Regions from separate parts of the Homo sapiens genome. Here all the other regions are linked to region 6. The links are contacts of gene promoters, found by promoter capture Hi-C in blood cells and fetal thymus (Javierre and others, 2016). All regions are on one chromosome and are shown on one strand. The core of a region is centred on a gene start or on the middle of the fragment in contact, and the rest is flanking DNA. Distances in the headings are between cores, read along the strand shown. Region 1 overlaps AFG3L2 (AFG3 like matrix AAA peptidase subunit 2). Region 2 has its middle 1.7 kb from the start of TUBB6. Region 3 has its middle 14 kb from the start of AFG3L2. Region 4 holds the start of MIR4526 (microRNA 4526). Region 5 overlaps LDLRAD4 (low density lipoprotein receptor class A domain containing 4). Region 6 holds the start of SEH1L (SEH1 like nucleoporin). Region 7 overlaps PRELID3A (PRELI domain containing 3A).

What was found. The method cuts DNA at HindIII sites, captures the fragments that hold promoters and counts their contacts. A CHiCAGO score of 5 or more calls a contact.
Region 1: a fragment that was not itself captured here is called in contact with the fragment with the promoter of SEH1L in region 6 in 15 of 17 cell types (naive CD8 T cells, non-activated CD4 T cells, monocytes and 12 more); the score reaches 14.6 in naive CD8 T cells.
Region 2: a contact is called between a fragment that was not itself captured here and the fragment with the promoter of SEH1L in region 6, in 3 of 17 cell types (monocytes, erythroblasts and naive B cells). The highest score is 8.2, in monocytes.
Region 3: a contact is called between a fragment that was not itself captured here and the fragment with the promoter of SEH1L in region 6, in 13 of 17 cell types (fetal thymus, total CD8 T cells, monocytes and 10 more). The highest score is 14.6, in fetal thymus.
Region 4: a fragment that was not itself captured here is called in contact with the fragment with the promoter of SEH1L in region 6 in 1 of 17 cell types (fetal thymus); the score reaches 7.6 in fetal thymus.
Region 5: a fragment that was not itself captured here is called in contact with the fragment with the promoter of SEH1L in region 6 in 1 of 17 cell types (fetal thymus); the score reaches 5.0 in fetal thymus.
Region 7: a contact is called between a fragment that was not itself captured here and the fragment with the promoter of SEH1L in region 6, in 11 of 17 cell types (monocytes, total CD4 T cells, naive B cells and 8 more). The highest score is 8.5, in monocytes.

The regions. Positions count from the first base shown.
Region 1 is chr18:12,364,762-12,367,461 of GRCh38, reverse strand. It overlaps AFG3L2 (AFG3 like matrix AAA peptidase subunit 2), which reads left to right. Exons shown (of 17, transcript NM_006796.3): 4 at 80-186; 5 at 345-497. Among named protein-coding and RNA genes, the nearest start is that of AFG3L2, 11 kb to the left of the region's middle. The HindIII fragment of the contact is 2,906 bases long and covers 1-2,700 here.
Region 2 is chr18:12,305,155-12,307,854 of GRCh38, reverse strand. It overlaps a transcript of TUBB6 not described here. Among named protein-coding and RNA genes, the nearest start is that of TUBB6, 1.7 kb to the left of the region's middle. RefSeq lists a silencer at 1-128. The HindIII fragment of the contact is 285 bases long and covers 1,181-1,465 here.
Region 3 is chr18:12,389,659-12,392,358 of GRCh38, reverse strand. No RefSeq gene overlaps it. Among named protein-coding and RNA genes, the nearest start is that of AFG3L2, 14 kb to the right of the region's middle. The HindIII fragment of the contact is 739 bases long and covers 1,044-1,782 here.
Region 4 is chr18:13,610,276-13,612,975 of GRCh38, reverse strand. The region is part of intron 4 of LDLRAD4 (low density lipoprotein receptor class A domain containing 4); the gene reads right to left. It overlaps MIR4526 (microRNA 4526), which reads right to left and starts at 1,862; the gene lies at 1,776-1,862. RefSeq lists an enhancer at 123-352. The HindIII fragment of the contact is 1,087 bases long and covers 880-1,966 here.
Region 5 is chr18:13,629,439-13,632,138 of GRCh38, reverse strand. The region is part of intron 5 of LDLRAD4 (low density lipoprotein receptor class A domain containing 4); the gene reads right to left. Among named protein-coding and RNA genes, the nearest start is that of MIR4526, 20 kb to the right of the region's middle. The HindIII fragment of the contact is 3,355 bases long and covers 1-2,700 here.
Region 6 is chr18:12,946,605-12,949,304 of GRCh38, reverse strand. SEH1L (SEH1 like nucleoporin) reads right to left here and starts at 1,294. Exons shown (of 9, transcript NM_001013437.2): 1 at 1,073-1,294. The coding sequence starts at 1,183. RefSeq lists an enhancer at 114-715 and silencers at 647-746, 757-1,106, 1,147-1,596. The HindIII fragment of the contact is 15,085 bases long and covers 1-2,336 here.
Region 7 is chr18:12,412,367-12,415,066 of GRCh38, reverse strand. The region is part of intron 1 of PRELID3A (PRELI domain containing 3A); the gene reads right to left. Among named protein-coding and RNA genes, the nearest start is that of PRELID3A, 5.8 kb to the right of the region's middle. The HindIII fragment of the contact is 7,678 bases long and covers 1-2,700 here.

The sequences.
Region 1 (2,700 bases), core at 124-2,623, 580 kb after region 6:
TAAACCGTATACATGAAGACATTGCTGAGAGAGCTAAAACCTTGCCGTGCTTCTGTGTGTGCTCTTTGTTTATGAACAGAATCAAAGCCAGCTGCTACCACACGCTCTTCTGGAGGAGGAGGTGGTGGCGGTGGAAAACGAGGTGGCAAGAAAGATGATTCTCACTGGTGGTCCAGGTTTCAGAAGGTTTGATGCTATACATTGTGTGAATTTTGAGGTTATGATGGTGGCCCAGAGAAGGTTGGGAGGCATTAGTGTAGTGTTGGAGGGATTTGTGTCTCACAGAGCATAGATCGTATTGTGGAATTTCATTCTTCACAGAAGCTGTCTCCCTCTCTGCCCAGGGTGACATTCCATGGGACGACAAGGATTTCAGGATGTTCTTCCTCTGGACTGCTCTGTTCTGGGGTGGAGTCATGTTTTACTTGCTGCTCAAGAGATCCGGGAGAGAAATCACTTGGAAGGACTTTGTCAATAACTATCTTTCAAAAGGAGTAGTAAGTATTTTATGGGATTGGTGGCTGTTGTGGTTCAAAGGTGAAATTCATCAGATTAGACCAAAGAAGTGACAGTCAGCAGGTTAACCTGGCTCGTCCATTGTAAAATTGTTATTTTCACTCAGATTTTTCTAATGCTGAGAAGTACTGCAACTAGAGAACCCGTGTTTTGACCTGGTGTCCTCAAATTTACCCACAAATTCTTTTATTTCACTACCTCCCAGAACTGGGTTTTGGAACCACTGCTTCTGACCATGGTCTTGGCAGTCCTCTGCTTGCGCCCTTTTCTCACGTGCCCTCAGCTGCCCCTGCTCTGTGCTGTCGTGTGCCAGCCTCTGCCCCTGCTCTGTGCTATCATGTGCCAGCGTCTGCCCCTGCTTTGTGCTGTTGTGTGCCAGCCTCTTTGGGCCCTCTGTGGGTCTTTACTACATTTAGTCACCTGTGGGCGTGGCAGCTAATCAGCGTGTGTTGTCAGAGCAGATGGGGCTCTAAGGGAGGGCCAAGTGGGTGCGTGGTCCCTGCCATTTCTCTGTCTGCGGAGCAGCCTTTGTTACTGTCTGCTGGGCTTGCCCATGTGTGACTATATTCACCACAACCAATGGGAAATAAGTAAGACCATATTTCAGCATATTTAAGATGCTATTGATTGTAAGACACATGGTATTTTATAAGTTGCTAAGACAAATCTAATAAGATGCTGATGAAATTATGACATGCCATCAATTGTAAAATGGATCTCCATTTCTGATGTTAAAATATGAAAAATGTGTGTCTTAGAATTGATGCAGTGGCCGGGCGTAGTGGGTCACGCCTGTAATCCCAGCACTTTGGGAGGCCGAGGCGGGTGAATCACGAGGTCAGGAGATTGAGACCATCCTGGCTAACATGGTGAAACCCCCGAATCTACTAAAAAATACAAAAAATTAGCCGGGTGTGGTGGCACGTGCCTGTAGTCCCAGCTATTTGGGAGTCTGAGGCAGGAGAATGGCGTGAACCCGGGAGGCGGAGCTTGCAGTGAGCCGAGATTGCACCACTGCACTCCAGCCTGGGCGACAGAGCGAGACTCCATCTCAAAAAAAAAAAAAAAAAAAAAGAATTGATGCAGTGTAGTGATAGACACCAGAATTAGGCCTGCTGTGTAGCCTTGGGGAAACCCCTTAACCTCTTAATACTTGGGTTTTCATCCATGAAATGGATAAAGTAAGACGACATGAATACTTACTGAGGTAGTGTAAAGAATTTGAATTCGTTCTGAAGGTTGTGCAGGAAGGTAAGGATGTAAGAAATGGTTATCTACTCAAATGAGCAGCTGCTACTGTGCTAAGAGCTGAAGTTGACTGAGATTAACTTCAGTTTATGTTTCCCCTGGAAGTTGGAAACCTTCAGTGGACTCCAGAATTCCAAAATGCTTACATCGGACAGATCCTGCCTGTACCATTGTCCTGTGCGTAGGGAGATGGGTTCCTGGTGCTTCCTTATGCCACCATCTTCCAGAGTCCTTTTATCTAGTTGGATTTTTGAAACATGTTTATCTTATGAAAGTGAGGATCTTATATGTGTAATTCTCAGATGTAGTGGGGACTCCCACTCAGAAGCTGCTCAGAAGCAGTGGTCATTGCGTGTGGACTGGGCTGCAGCCGTCCTTCTGATTGGGATGGCAGGTCCTCGAGGTGGCTTCTCCATAGCTGCAGCTCCTCCTGACCCTCTGGCTCTTTGGCATTAGTCTGCTGTCTCCCCAGCGGGTGTCTGTGGGGTGGAGCAGTGCCAGTCATTCCTCTCTGACAGAGACTGCCTTTAAGAACAGTTGCTCCCCGATTCCAGCCCCTCTGGGATTGCTCTGGGGCTCCTTTGCTTTTTGTTTGTCATTCTTGCCTTCCAGACTTGCTGACAAAGCAAGCAGTTAGAAATAAGCACATCCCAGAGCGCTCATGCTCCTAAACCAGTTACAGTCCTTGGGATGTGGTGTTTTAACAGTGTTACTAAGAATCCTATGTAGGCTGGCCGTGGTGGCTCACACCTGTAATCTGTGCACTTTGGGAGGCTGAGGTGGGAGGATCACTTGAATCTAGGAGTTCGAGACCAGCCTGGGGAATGTAGGGAGACCCCATCTCTACAAAGAAATGTAAAAAAATTGGCCATCTGTGGTGGCTTGCATTCTTAGTCCCAGCTACTCAGGAAGCTGAGGTGGGAGGATCTCTTGTGC
Region 2 (2,700 bases), core at 74-2,573, 640 kb after region 6:
GGGACACTGCCCTGGGGTTCGGCGGTGGAGCTTTTCAGGGTCTCTGCCCCCTGCCCCCCACCCCCCGGTCGCACCCCGGGCACACGTTCTTAGGGCCTCTTCGTCCTGGTGTTTCCGTCTCCGGAGATACAGAGGCCATTCCTCTCCGACGACTCCCACCCCTTTGGAACCGGGTTTAGCTAAAGTGACTACAGGGCTGGATCCGAAAATGAACACCTCCTGCGCCGGGTCTATGCAGCCTACTCCTCGCGCGTTAGCGAAGAAATGCGCTTCGGCCTGGGAGGGCGCGCCAGAGTCCGTCTTCCTGGCCAGTTTTGTGTGGTGGAAAGGAATGACTGCTGATGCCGGCCGGGTGACTTGGATTTTAATTCTAGCTGTTTTCAGTTAGCTCTGCGCTTCAGCGGACTCCTCTGTTAACGGAAAAGGTTATCCTAGGGGAGCCTTTCAGCCTCCAAAATGCGGGATGCTCTGGCCTCTGCAGTCAGAATGTGCATGCATCAGGGCTTTTGCGGAAGTTTCCTCACGTGAACGCTGCAGGCTGGGACCACCGGGGTAGCCTCTGCGTCCCCTCCCAGGCCCGTAGAAACGCCGCACATGAGGAAGCGACGATGTTCTGTAATTTGCACTGGCACTTTCTTTTTAGACAGATGAAAACTTTGGGAAATTCCTAATTGTGTGTGTGCATGTTTGTACGTTTGGAAGGGAGTGGAGAACTTTTAAAAGTTTTTCTTCTGGAGTTTTGCAAATGTTTCCAAATTGAGGAATTTTTTTTTTTAACCCTTGGGTCCCCGCCTCCCCACTGCTCTCTCCACCCCAGTGCTGCTCCTCGGCCTTCTTGTGGGTCCCCACACCTCTTTACACAGCCACACGCCCAGGGAGCAGATGAGGAGGCCACAGCCCAGCCCCTGCGCTCCCATTTCAAACTATGAGCCTGAGATTAATCAGCCACCTTCTCCTGAGTCCTCAACACCCTTATTTAGGCTGTTTGTTTCCATTGCTTAATTATTGACTCCAACGAGTGCTACCTTAACCCATCCTGCCGGCCCGAAGTCTAGTGTGGGGAGCCCGAGAGCGGAGGGCCTGTGCCATCCCTGGAAGAACCCTTCCTCCAGCTTTAGTCTCTCTCTCTAAGAAATCCAGCCATCAAGTGGTTTAAAAGAAAGTGTCTACTTTAGAAGCTTTGGTCGTTTGCTGAAATAGCCACCCTTTCAGTGCTAGCCCTTGGGCTGGAATTTAAGTCCAGGGGTCTGATCGAGCCAGAAAGTAGGTGTCAGCGTGGCTTCCGGAAGTCCGTTGTCACTTGGATTTGACAAGGGACAAGCCGACCTGCTGGTTTCTGGGCTCCTGCTCGCTGTGCGCTCTGCGCTGTCTGCAGGGATTGGTGCCCGCGGAGTGCGCTTTGTCTGGAGAAACTCAGTGCTCGAAGAGTGAGGAGACCGGGAGGAAACCTTCCCCCTGCAAAGCTTATCTCCCTTCCCTCTCATCAGAGGCGGGGCCCCGCAAGACACAAGGGATTTCCCCGCAGAATGAACCAAGGCCTCCCCAGGACATGGGGACAGTTCTGCTGTGCAAAGCCTGAATTCACGTTTCTTTCCTAAAGTGGCTCCCAGTCTCTCTGCAGCCTTGGCCTCTCTTTGAATCCCAACCCTGACTTCCCTGGTGTCTGTTGGCCACTCCCTTCTGGGAGCCGGCAGGTGAAACCCTGACCTGTGAGCCCGGCCTGGGGCTCTCCAGGCTCTGGGCCCCCTACCCTCCCGATCTGTGGCCCTCACTCCTCCTGGGCGAGGCTGTTTGTGACGCGGTGTGTCCAAATGCACACAAGCCGCAAACCAAACTTAAAAAAGCGTAGAGGACACATTCTCTTCTCCTACCTTAAAAAATACACCATGGTATCTGGAAAGCCAGGTTCCAGTTTAGAATTCTCAGGCTAGGCCGGGCACAGTGGTTCACGCCTGTAATCCCAAAACTTCCAAAGCTGACATGGCAGGATTGCTTGAGCCCAGGACCTCGAGACCAGCCTGGGCATTATAGTGAGACCCTTGTCTCTACAAAAAGTTAAAAAATTAGCCAGGCATGGTGGTACATGCCTGTACCCAGCTACTCCAGAGTCTGAGGTGGGAGGATTGATTGCTTGAACCTGGGAGGTGGAGGTTGCTGTGAGCTGTGATCATGTCACTGCACTCCAGCCAGGGTGACAGAGTGAGACCGCGTCTCAATAAAAATAAAATAAAATAAAATAAAAAAGAAATCGGTAGACTTCTTGGGCTCCTCGTTGATTTGCATCAGGGCGTGGAAGTGCGGGGGCTGGTCTCAGCCTGCAGTCCTCACTTTCAACACCCGCCTTTCTCCCCACCTCCAATTCTGTCCCACGCCGAGATGGGTCTCCAGTACATGCCTGTGGACACTTCAGTCCTCAGCCACTCACAGCCATCCCAGGCCACCCTGCGGGAAGAAGGGGCCCTAGGAGTAGGTTTGGGGAGGTCTGGGCAGGGACTCCTGAGGTCCGGGGGGCTGAGGTGCCATCTAGGAGCTGTGGGCTCATCCCAGTGGCCCTGTAGGGAGGGGGCAGGCAAGGACAAGGCCCCTCACCTGGGTCGAAGGCAGTGATGGCGTTCATGACTTGGTGCTCTGGGCGAGCCACATTACCCGTGCACTCCTGTCTGCTCACTTTCCTCCTCCTCTTGCCCGTCTCTTCTGTGC
Region 3 (2,700 bases), core at 164-2,663, 560 kb after region 6:
CAAGGAGTTTGGTGTACCAAAGCAATCATCACATTTTTTTACAAGAAGACACAATTGGGAAAAATCTAGAAACTTTATGATTTGAGTATACCATTGTGGTCAACTCTTTTAGAAAAATATTTGATCACTACCTAGTAAAAGGGTGATAAAGAATCTTCTAAATGTTCTGCAGTTGTCATTCATGAAACGTGCATTGGTAGCACCCTGGCATCAGTGACATCATTCATGGTTTTACTCATTATCATCTGGAAAATAGCAACTGGGCATTGTGTCTTTTCTATTCCTTTACCTGAGGCCCATTGCCAGGAACAGTAGCACAAACCAAGACCACCACTGGAAAAGATTATGTCAGCTTCACTTTATAGAAAACACAGCATTAGGTTGTTCGTGGAGATGAACTATGAACAATAGAAAAATTATTTTTTGAAAAATCCAGACCAGCCTTGTGAACACATCTGAAGGTTTTCTGGAAATGCACGGCGTTGTCTAGAGATGTATAGGGCTCTCCTGACGCCTAGTGGGGAACCGTATGCAGCACAACTCTGGGTAGCGAGCCCAAGCCCTAGCCACAAAACACAAATTATTTTCTAAAAACTAATGTTTACCAGGCAATCTCTCTACTAGGAAACCATCCTCTGAATGGAAGCTGGCACATGTGTATATATGCATGTACCAATAAGAATAATTGGCTGGGTGCGTGGGCTCATGCCTGTAATCCCAGCACTTTAGGAGGCCAAGATGGGAGGATCACTTGAAGCCAGGAGTTCAAGACCAGCCTCAGCAGTATAGTGAAACTCCAACGTTACAAAAAATTTAAAAATTAGCCAGCTGTGGTGGCGCAGGCCTGTAGTCACAGCTATTTGGAAAGTTGAGGCTTGAGCCTGGGCATTCAAGGCTACAGTGAGCTATGATCGTGCCACTGCACTCCAGTCTGGGTGACAGAGCAAGACCCTGTCTCAAAAAAAAAAGCTCACGGTGGCTTCTGAAATAAAAAGAAATGAGAATTAGTCTAAATGACGCTTGGTGAGAAAACTATTAAAGCTTTACAAGAGAATACAATAGAGTTTATTAATGCCTTGGGGGAACTATATGTTATTAACATACAAAAATATATGTTAAACAAAAGAAAAAATCAAGATGCATAAAGTACACGTTCGTTCATGTAAAAATAAGTTTTTTTTTTTTTGTTTGTTTGTTTTGAGACAGAGTCTTACTCTGTCACCTAGGCTGGAGTGCAGTGGCACCATCTCGGCTAACTGCAACCTCTGCTTCCCGGGTTGAAGTGGTTCTCAGGCCTCAGCTTCCCTTGTAGCTGGGACTACAAGCGCATGCTACCACACCCGGCTAATTTTCTATATTTTCAGTAGAGGCTGGGTTTTACCATGTTGGCCAGGCTGGTCTCAAACTCCTGGCCTCAAGCAATTCACCAGCCTTGGATTTCCAAAGTGCTGGGATTACAGGCATCAGCCACCACACCTGGCCTAAAAATTAGTTCTATATGCTTGCAAATACATATAAAATGTATGGACACACACACACAGAAAAAACTACCTAGAAATTTACCTTTAAAGGCCAGGCACCATGGCTCATGCCTATAATCACAGCACTTTGGGAGGCCAAGGCAGGTGGATCACCTGAGGTCAGGAGTTAGAGACCAGCCTGGTCAACATAGTGAAACACTAAAAATACAAAAATTAGCCGGGCATGGTGGCAGGTGCCTGTAATCCCAGCTACTCGGGAGGCCAAGGCAGGAGAATAGCTTGAAATCTGGGAGGCAAAGCTTGCAGTAAGCCGAGATCAGCCACTGCACTCCAGCCTGGGCGACAGAGTGAGACTGTGTCAAAAAAAAAAAAAAAAGTCCGGGCGCGGTGGCTCACGCCTGTAATCCCAGCACTTTGGGAGGCTGAGGTGCGTGGATCACGAGGTCAGGAGATCGAAACCATCCTGGCTAACACAGTGAAACCCCGTCTCTACTAAAAATACAAAAAAATTAGCCAGGCATGGTGGTGAGCACCTGTAATTCCAGCTACTTGGGAGGCCGAGGCAGGAGAATAGCTTGAAATCTGCGAGGCAAAGCTTGCAGTAAGCTGAGATCAGGCCACTGCACTCCAGCCTGGGCAACACAGTGAGACTCCGTCTCAAAAAAAAAAAAAAAAAGAAAGAAAGAAAGAAAGAAAGTTACCTTTAAGATGTGAACATGAGAAATGAAGATACTTTTACTTTTCATTTTGTAACTTTGTTTCTGTCCACACTGATGAAAAAAAAATTTATACTGAACTTTTTTTTTATTTTGAAAGACAGAGTCTTGTTCTGTCACCTAGGCTGGAGTGCAATGGTGTGATCATAGGTCACTGCAGCCTTGAATTCTGGGCTCAGGCAATCCTCCTGCCTCAGCCTCCTGAGTAGCTTGAACTACAGGCCTGTACCAGCACACTGAGCTAATTTTTAATTTTTAATTTTTTTTTTTGAGATGGAGTCTCGCTCTGTCACCCAGGCTGGAGTGCAGTGGTGCGATCTCGGCTCACTGCAAGCTCCGCCTCCCGAGTTCATGCCATTCTCCTGCCTCAGCCTCCAGAGTGGCTGGGACTACAGGCACCCGCCACCACGCCCGGCTAATTTTTTGTATTTTTAGTAGAGACAGGGTTTCACTGTGTCAGCCAGGATGGTCTCAATCTCCTGACCTCGTGATCCACCCGCCTT
Region 4 (2,700 bases), core at 174-2,673, 660 kb before region 6:
TGAAAAAGCCTGACATGCATCTTCCTAAAGGGAGTCCCACCCGGAAATGTTCTGAGTTGACAGACCCCTCTTAGGTAGAAAGAAACTTCTTGAGAAAGAGCTTCTCCTCTTCTCAGCTCTGTCCTCAGACCAAACTCCAAGAAGAACCACAGCAAACCCGAAAGAGCATGCATCATCCATAGCAGTTCTTGGGAAATGTACCTTTTTTTAAGAACAGGTCTTTGAACTGAGCCTCCTTCAGTGTGCTGTTGTTCAGGTGGTCACTGGACATAATCAGGTCCTCTGCAAGTGGGAGTCCAACTGTGACGCAGCCCCCCCACGTTCAAAGCATCCCTTCAGCTTCCGGCAATCTCCTCTCCAGGCAGCTCAGAGCTGCAGTTATAGCTGGCATGGGGTGTGGGAGAGTGTGTGAGCGTGGAGGGGGGGGGGGTGTGTTTCTGTCTGCCTCGTTCACTCTCTCTCTACTGTATCAGCAGGGCCCACCCCAGGTGCTAGACTCAAATGCTGTGGCTCCGACCGCAGACTGTGGCTACCAATTATCAACTGCCATCAACAGAAACCAGGAGCTCTGCGGCAGGAAGCCGGCCGTGTCACCGAGCAGAGAATAAGTCCGGGGTCTCCGATCCTGAGACCAGCTGTACACCCAGGGCACTACTGTTTACAGCAACGTCTATCAGTGAGCAGTCTGCACTTCTCAGGTTTGGCCTCACACCTGGACGTGTCACACACACAGGCAAGCAGAACGCAGCTAGACGGCTCATCTTGTCACACTGCGTTCAGTAATCTTTTCAACAGGCAAATATCAAACCAGTCCAGACAGAAAGGAGGAAATCTGCAAGTCTCACACAATACTCCTTCCCTTGATCTCTGCTGGAAGCTTTCAGTGTGGAAGGACCGGAGAGGGCGCTTACCAAGGCAGGACACGCGACAGGCGGGACGCTCACGTTAGGCTCGCGTGCTTCTCCCCTGCAGATCCGCTCCCAGAGCGTGCTCGCCCGGCTGGGAGCACCCACAGCGTCCCTCAGGCTGCGAGCCAGGCTGCGGGCTGTCCTCTTCTGGTGCTCCCTCTCCACATCCTCTAACTGATGGGAGCAGCTCCCAGCGGCTCTTGCCACCGAGCTCTGTACTGGCAAGGCGTGAGGTCCTAACCGCAGCAGGAAACACTGCGCGCTCCTTTCCCCCCGGCTCGCTCTTCCCTCTTGGCTCTCCCATTCATTCCCTCTCCCTCTGCCTCACATCATTATTCCCCATGTATGGTAGCACAAAAACACCACAGAGACTCCTTCAAAGTCAGGATGCTCAATGTTCCTAGGCAGTTTTAGTTTATAAGGATCAGAAATTAGAGAACAGAATCCCAGGCAATTCAAACATGAAAGCAGAGACATGTCTCAGGAGGGCGCTTTCTCCTGGTTCATTTTGTTCAAGCACAGTCTCTTTTCCCCGAGGTCTAAACAGTTTGTTTCATCTGAGTGTAAAACATCTCCCGTGCATTCGGATGCCCCCAGGCTGTGTGAAGAAAATTCAGGGCAGGCTGCGAGTCTGTCGCAGTTTTCAGAGAAAATCACGGGGTGGCCGTGGTGGAAAGGGCAGCCTGCCATGGTAACGCTGCAAATAACCCCCACCACAAGCACTGCCGGGAGCCCAGAATAGCCTTTGTTTTTCCTTATTTAGGGTAAATAGGAATGACATGTGGGCCATAACAATAGTTTTGGCTGTAGGAGGAGTTGTCAAAGCAAAACTAAACTCTGTTGGTTACTACCAGCGTTAGAAGCCAGGACAGTGACGTTAGCGGCCAGCCCTGCTGTCAGCCCAGCACGTCACCTGGGGCATGACAGCAGGGACTGGGCCCTGATGTCACCGCAGGGTCCTCCAGGTGGCTAGAAGACATCACTTTCTCATGTTCTCATTTTTGGGGGCAGGGGCAGAAAAGCAACAGAAGAACCACCCAGAAGAGTTTCCAGAAGCTTCACGTGGATAAAAGGAAACCAGAGAATTTCAGCAAGGAAAGTGACCATTTATTAATATACAGCCGCGAGGGAAATCCGGATGGTATGATTCTTCCTGAGCAATTTCCGAATTAAAAATGGAACTCCCCTCCCTGTGCCAGACTTTCCCTGACTTCTCAGAGTCACCCTGCTGGGTGAATGAAGAGGGAGTCACCCTCAGAAAGAGGCAGCTTCAGAAAGAATTAGAAGCTGCAGCCACTTCAAGCCGCCCCTCCCTGGCTACCAGCGCCCCTTGTCCCTGGAGCCCCGAGGCTCCTTGCCACCTGGGCCAGCACTTCCTGGTCAGGCTCAGTCACATGATAGGCTTGCCCTCAAGCCAGGGCCTTAGTGAGGAGCGCTGTAGGCCACTGTACCTGTCTGTTTCTTAAAATTAGGGCTTTGTGGGGCAGGCACGGTGGCTCAAGCCTGTAATCCTAGCACTTTCGGAGGCCGAGGTGGGCGGATCACCTGAGGTCAGGAGTTCAAGACCAGCCTGGTCAACATGGCGAAACCCGTCTCTACTAAAAATACAAAAATTAGCCAGGTGTGGTGGCACACGCCTGTGATCCCAGCTACTCAGGAGGCTGAGGCAGGAGAATTGCTTGCAACTGGGAGGTAGAAGTTGCCATGAGCCAAGATAGGGCCACTTCACTCCAGCCTGGGCGACAGAGTGAGACTCCGTCTCAAAAAAAAAAAAAAAAAAAAAAAAAAAAAA
Region 5 (2,700 bases), core at 30-2,529, 680 kb before region 6:
TCAACTGAGATGATTGTGGGACAAGAACTTGGGACCTGCTGAATGAAGTTTGGGACCCCCAACTTCATTCTGTTAATGTAGTGTATGACACTGACTGAATTTCATGTATGGAACCATCCTTGCCTTCTGGGAATAAATCCCCCACTTGTTGATGATGTATAATCCTTTTACTTTTTTAAATTTAATTTTTATTTAGTATTATTATTATTTTTGAGACAGAGTCTCGCTCTGTCTTCCAGGCTGGAGTACAGTGGCACGATCTCAGGTCACTGCAACCTCCGCCTCCCGGGGTCAAGTGATTCTCCTGCCTCAGCCTCCCGAGTAGTTGGGATTGCAGGTGCGTGCCCCCATGCCTGGTTAATTTTCGTATTTTTAGTAGTGACAGGTTTCACCATGTTGGCCAGGCTGGTCTCGAACTCCTGACCTCAAGTAATCTGCCTCCCTTAGCCTCCCAAAGTGCTGGGATTACAGGTGTGAGTCACTGTGCGCAGCCAGTATAACCCTTTTAATATACTGCTGAATTTAGTTTGCTAGTATTTTGTTGAGGACTTTTGCATCAATATTTATAAGAAATATTAGTCTATGGTTATCTTTTTCTGCTGTGTCTTTGTCTGGCTTTGGTATCAGGAATGCTGGCCTCATCTCATAATGAGTTAGGAAGTGTTCCCACCTCTTGAAATTTCTAGAAGTTTAAGAAGGATTGATGTCAATTCTTTAAATGTTTGGTAGAATTCACCACTGAAGCCATGTGGTCCAGGTTGGAGATTTTAGACCATTGGTTCAATCTCCTTACTAGCTATAGATCTATTAAGATTTTCTATTTCTTCATGATTCAGTCTTGGTAGGCTGTTTCTAATATCTTTTCATTTCATCTAGGTTATCCAATTGGTTTGCATACAATTGTTCGTAGCACTATTTTATAATCCTTTTCATTTCTGTATTTATTGGATCATTTTTCTTCCAACCAGTACATCTCATATTATTAAAGGACAGTCGTCTGCAGCCATGACTTACTGAGGGTTCCCTTGTGCTGCACCATGGGCTGTCGCCTGCTGCCATGCGTCCACGTGTGCAAGGCCACACCACGCCCGAACCCTGCTGGGCTTATGCTCTCAGCTACACTCTCCTTTCCACACACACACAGAGGACCCCAGGAATGATCAGATGTGGGGACTGGAAACAACCAGGGAGAGCACTGAACACAGTGTTTTCCACCATGTGCTTTGCAGCCTCTTAGAGAGCTGGAAAATCCATTTAAGTGGGTCACAGCCAGCATTCCAAAAACTGAAACAGAACAGAAATGATCTGAGCACACTGTAAGTATTGTTTTGTAAAACCTCTGCCTTAATTGCATTATAGGAGGCTTTTGTGTTGTGATATAAAATGTATTTCTTACTGTTCTTCATGGCAAGATACAGATTGAAGGCCTCCGAATGAAGCCAGTTATCCCTCATTTTAGATGGGGGGAAACTGAGGACAGAGGGCATATTCCTCTCTAGGCACCTCGGTCAGTCTGCGGTAAAGCAAGACTACTGCTGGGTATTCTGATTCTACCCAAGGGCTAACCTCCCAGTGAATGAATGTATTTTATGGCCTCAAATAGTTGGAAATCTATTTTTCCCCTGTTCCACAGTGAGAATTTCAAAGAAGAGGTGAAATTGATCTTTGGATATTCAGCAACACCTTTGCCTTCTGATAAAATCAATTTTCCCTGTTTTCTCCCTTTTTTCATGCAGCCTCTCCACCATCCTGATATTTTATCACTACCGTCCTTTCCACTCTAGATGGCAGTCACAGCCTGGATGTGAGGCCAGTACCCCTGGCTGTCAGAGACTGCACCTCCCCCTTTCTTCCTCCTGGGGAATCCATCATCAGACTTCTCAGATTCAAGATCCCCCAACTCTGCTCAATCTAGGGCACGTCCCTTAAGAGAAAAGACAAATCATCTAGGAAGGTCTGCTGGAAGAAAAGGAAGGGAATCCTTTCTATTTCTGGGACAATGCAATGGGCTAGCGGGGAAAAGCAATATGAGGTGCCTCTCCCAGCTTGGTGCTGGGGTTAGTGAGCAATCGGACTTCAAGAGGAATCAGCCTGGGAATGAGAAAGTTCCAGGCAGCAGGAAAATGTGGAACCACACAAGATCCAGGCAGGCATCATCCTGATTTCAGCACCAGTTGCCTCGTCTCACATGTGAGAAGAAGTCAGAGCTCAGAGGGGATTTTCTGTGACCTTCACCCAAGGTCACAGAGCTGCTGGGGCTTTGCCAAGAGCCAGACCCCAGCCTGGTGAGCCTCCCCAACAGGGGCCACCCAGAGTTATGATCATTAAGATAATTTTTAATCTTCTTCTCTTTTTTTTTTTCAGAACAAACCACACCAACTTTCAAGGACTAAGCAAAAAATAAACCAACAGATTTTACTATTAGATTATTAATGCTAATACCTTATATATTTAAAAGATTACTATAAATTTGTTGATAAAAATGTTCATACATTTTATTTAAAATTATTATTTTAGCCACCATAGAAACCATGTTCAAATGAATTACTCTGGGAGTCTATAGATGCCCAGAACATTACTGCCTTTAGCATCAGTTTACATGATCAGAGGATGTTTTGTAATTGCAAAGGTAATACATGAATACATTCTTACCATAAAAGTTTTACTGCACAGATCAGTGTTCCTTTGTCCTTACTTCCT
Region 6 (2,700 bases), core at 45-2,544:
ACTATCCTTCAGATTTCCAGTTACTCTGGAGTTGTCGAGAACCAAATAATCCGCACTCCAGCTTTCATTCATCCTGCAACACATCTGGGAGGTTCCTAAATCTCATGTAGCATCCCCACATTAGAAATTCTGCTTGTAGGCCGGGCGCGGTGGCTCACGCCTGTAATCCCAGCACTTTGGGAGGCCGAGGCGCCGAGGCGGGTGGATCACGAGGTCAGGAGTTCGAGACCAGCCTGGCCCACATGGTGAAACTCTGTCTCTACTAAAAAATACAAAAAAAAAAAAAGATTAGCCGGGGGTGGTGGCGTGCACCTGTAATCCCTGCTACTTGGGAGGCTGGGGCAGGATAATCGCCTGAAAGCGGGAGGCGGACGTTGCAGTGAGCCGAGATCGTGCCATTGCACTCCAGCCTGGGTGACAGAGTGAGACTCGGTCTCAAAAAAAAAAAAAAAAAAAGAAAAGAAATTCTGCTTGTCGGAAGTGTCTACAGACGTTTACGGGAACTTCAAGAAACAAACCCTCCGATTCCTGGGCAGCAAGCAGGGAAATCATTGGATGTAAATGGTTTGTATTTTTCTTCCTCGGCGTAACAAAGTGAGCTTCTGCTCTGAACCCACGGAGAAAACCATGTGCCCTGGTGAGAGAACACCGGCGGGGCACAGAACTCGACGCAGCGCCAGCCAGGCAAAGTCTCCCACCAGGTCCCACTGCAGGTCGTCGGGTGAACAGCGCGGGCAAGACCCACGACGCCGAGGCTGACGGTGGGATGCCCCTGGGTTCCCGCCCGCAGCCCCGGCAGCGCGGCCTGGGAGAGGGCCCGGCGTACCCTGCGGGCGGGAGCGCGCACGTGGCACCAGCTGCGCAGGCGCACGGGAGGGCGGCCCGCGAGGCCGCCGTGACCCCACAATACGCGGGCGGGGAGGGCTTCCGCTCAGTCCAGCCAGGGCTCGCCCGCCACCCCACAGCTTCCAGCGGCGTCACTGAACCAAGACACAGCCCCGTTCCCCGCGCCGCCCACCCACTCCCCTTCCTTCCTTCCGGGGTCGGCCCCGCCCGCAAGCGCCGCGCGCACCTTAACGCTCTGATCGCTGGAGCAGGTTGCCATCCGCCGCCCGTGGAAGTCGAAAGAGACATCGTGGATGAGATCCTTGTGGTCCGCCGCGATGCTGCGAGCCACAAACATGGTTTCCGTCGGGCCCGCGCCTCCGAAGAGGACAGTGGCGGCGGCAGCGGCGGCGGCGCGTGGCCCGTAGCCTAGCCAGACCTCGCAGCCCGGGAGCGCACGGCTTGTGCTGCCCACGCCCCCGCACCGCCCCTGCCTATCAAGCCCCGCCCACACACCCTCCGGTCCTTCAAGCCCCGCCCCACCCACCGGCCCGTCAGGCCCCACACAGTCCCCTGGCCCCTCAAGCCCTGCCCACGCCCCGGCCCGTCATGACTCGCCCCACCTTCCGGTCCCTCAAGCCCCGCCCCGCCCCCAGGCCCGTCAAGCCCCGCCTACCCTCCCACCAGAGCCGTCATGCCTCGCCCCACCCTCCCGCCCCCTCAAGCCCCGCCCTGTTCCCGGCTCGTCAATCCTCGTCCCGCCCCCGGCCCGTCATGCCCTACGATCCTGGTGCGGGTTCCTCCAGGCTCTGACCGTTCGGCGGCGGAGGGTGCTCTGCAAAAGGCGAGTTACCTGTGCTGAGAAGTAGTAAGAGCTTATTGGTATACTGTGCAAATGAAGAAAGATGAAAAAGTGAAGACTGCCTCTCACGGTCCTCGGCCCTGAATCATTTAAGTCGACGTTTGGATGTGTTTCCCCCCAGACACATGCGAGGCGCGCGGAGCAGGTGGAGAAGACGAACCGTGGGTTTGGTCAGGAGCCGCGCTCCGTCGGGACGGCTGAAGAGCAGGGAGGGCCGGGGAGACGCCTGAGGGGATGACAAGCAGTCCAGGCTCGGCAGCCTAAGAGCGAAGGCTGGACGGGGAGGAAAGGATCAGAAGTAGTAGTTTAAATGTGTCAAGATTTTACAGGTAGAACAGGCCTGGGGGTGCTAGGAGCCACCACGGGGGTAGGGAAATAGTATGAATTAGAAGAGTCCGCCTGTAGAAACGTGTCATCCCGGGGGAAGGAAGCGGCCGGGGAAGTGGGCTGCTTGCTACCCGGGAGCCAGAGTCCTCCGGGGAAAAGGAAGTGAAGAGGGCCAGAGCCCCTGGGAAGAGGCCTGGCTCAGATCAAGGATTCTGCCAAAACCGGAAAGTGGAGGAGCCAACGACTCGGGGGGTTTTGCTTATCAGGAAAAGGCATTCTAGAGGGCGTAGTGGTAAAGTTAGGATGGGAGACAGTGGAAGCTTGCGTCAGGGGAGCGAAAGTACAGAAAAAAAAAAAATGAGGCTGCAGAAGGGACTTGCCCTTTGGATTTTGGCCAGGAATGACAAAAATGTGAGGTATGGTAAAATTAGCAGGCTGGAAAGTTTTTTAAATGATTAGTCCCAGCTGTCCCCTGATGGATTGCACAGAAACCTGCAAAGAGAAGTGGCGCAATGACCTGACCTTTTTCAACCATAAATAAGATTTTATTGCTACTTTAAGAGGTGGGCCCCACCTCTTATGATAACTGATAACAACTATAACTTTTTTGAAGGTCAAAGACACTCATTTCCAAAGAAAGTGCTCACTATAAAAGTCCAATCAAAATATATTGATTATTATAAAAA
Region 7 (2,700 bases), core at 139-2,638, 530 kb after region 6:
GTCCCAGCTACTGCAGAGCCTGAGATGGGAGGATCACTTAAGCCAAACAGTTTGAGGCTGCAGTAAGTCGTGATTGCACTACTGCACTCCAGCCTGGGCAACAGAGCAAGACCGTCTCTAAAAAAAAGAAAGAAAAAAAGATGTAGGCAGCCAAAAACAAGATAGTAGGCCTGCTATACCCCACCACCAAGTGACCCAAGGCCTCCATCAGCTGCTCCTTAGCATTTGGGCCACACACCCTGGTGGCTCCAAGAACTTTTCCAGACATAACTGTTGTCACAGTGCTACTGAGACATGACTGACCTTTTCTTTTGGTGGGGGTGGAGGGGTGGGGGGAGGACCAAGTCTCACTCTGTTGCAGAGTGAGACTGGGATGCAGTGGGTGTGATCTCAACTCACTGCAACCTCCACCTCCCGGGTTCAAGCAATTCTCGTGCCTCAGCTTCCCGAGTAGCTAGGACTACAGGCATGAGCCACCACACCCAGCTAATTTTTGTATTTTTAGTAGAGATGGGGGTTCACCATGTTGACTAGGCTGGTCTCAAACTCCTGACCTCAGGTGATCCACCCACCTCGGCCTCCCAAAGTGCTGGGATTACAGGCATGAGCCATGGCGCCCGGCCAATGACTGGCCTTTTTTGCTGTATTGACATTTGCGCTAATTCTGCAAAAGCAATAAAAGGACAGAGCCAGTATCTTCCCAGCATCAAGGCAGGGCTCCAAATTGCATGTGGTCACCGCAGTCCTCACTGCTGTGCACTTGGGAAACAATGCCAGTTTCTCTTAGGGACATCTGTGAGTAAATGGCCAAGTGATTAGTTTTATGACTGCTTGACCCCTGAGTACTCTTCTCTTTGATATTCTGTGTGAGGGAACAGAAGTGCACCAGAAGCCCCTCTGCTGCTGCGGCCCAAGTCCCTCGACTCTGGGGTGTCTGGGGGGCGCCGGCACTTGTTCACTCTGAGTGGGAGCCCCTGTCTCTCTGCTGCTTTCCACTGCCTGCCTCTTGTACTTGAAAGAGCAATAAACAGAAAGAACAATAAACAGATAAACTTTGCTTATTCAGACTTGGGGATCTGGCAGATGATTTCTTGAAAATTAACAAAGTAAGCCTGTGCTTCAAGGAAAACAACTGATAGCATTTGCTGCCAAAGATAAAATTTGAGCTTTAAAGTGATAATTTGGCCAGGCACGGTGGCTCACGCCTGTAATCCCAGCACTTTGGGAGGCCAAGGCAGGCGGATCACCTGAGGTTAGGAGTTCAAGACCAGCCTGGCCAACATGGCGAAACCCCGTCTCTACTAAAAATACAAAAATTAGTAGGCCGTGGTGAGACTCACCTGCAATCCCAGCTATTTGGGAGGCTGAGGCAGGAGAATTGCTTGAATCTGGGAGGCAGAGGTTGCAGTTAACTGAGATCATGCCACTGCACTCCAGCCTGGGCGACAGAGTGAGACTCTGTCTTGGAAAAAAAATAAATAAATAAAGTGATAATTGAAATTTCAGAAAACTTGTATCTGCTACCAGGAGCTGGATGACTGCCTCATGCTGCACGCTCAGTGGAGGCCTATATTCCAAATGCTTCCAAGTCATACTTGGGTTAAAGACTCATTCATACACAGGACAGGCCAATGGGTTTGTTGTTGTGGTGGCTGTTTTAAGAGATGGTATGGCTCTGTCACTGTAGCCTCAAGCTCCTGGGGTCAAGCAATCCTCCTGCCTCAGCCTCCTGAACAGCTAGGACTACAGGCACAAGCCACCACACCTGGCTAATTTTTGTATTTATTTTTTGTAGAGACATATTCTACTATGTTGCCCAGGCTGGTCTCAAACTCCTGAGCTCAACCGATTACCCCCGCTAGGCCTCAGAGTTCAATACTCTATTCATTATAGTTTCAGGTTTTGTATTCCAACTAAGTGTTAAGAAGCTACCGTTTCTTTTGTCATAACAGGAAAGAATAGCCATAATTACTTAAAAAGACTACTAAGATGCTCCCACCTTTTCCAGCTGCATGTTTGTGTGAGGCTGGGGTTTATCCATACACTTCAACCAAAACTATATATTGCCAAACACAGACTGCAGAAGCAGATATGAGAATCAAGTTATCTCCTATTAAGCCAGATATTGTAGATATTAGTAAAAACAGAAACAGCACCACTCCTTTCACTAATTTTTGGAAAATACAGTTTTTTATTCAGAAACATTATAACAGGTTTATTATTGTTAAATTTAATGAATTAACTTTTTCAATTTATCATTTTTAATTTCTAATATGGTAAATATTGACAGACATAACCCACATAAGCAAAACTGTTTAGGGTTTTGCTAAATCAAGAGGTCCTGAGGCTGAAGAGCTTGAAATCCATTGGCCTAAGTGGGCCCTTGATTGAGTGGGAAATAGACACAGGGCTGGTCACTGCAGTTCGATTTGTAATAAGAGGAAAACTTAATGCCCTTCAATAAGAAAAAGAATAAATGGTGGCACATTCATACAGCTATTAATATCTATCTATATCTACATATATTTATGTAGACATCTATAGACATCTCATATGGATGGATTTTCGAAAAACAATAGGGCTAGGCGCAGTGGCTCACGCCTGTAAACCCAGCACTTTGGGAGGCCCAGGTGGGCTGATAACTTGAGGTCAGCAGTTGGAGACCAGCCTGGCCAACATGGCGAAACCCCGTCTCTACTA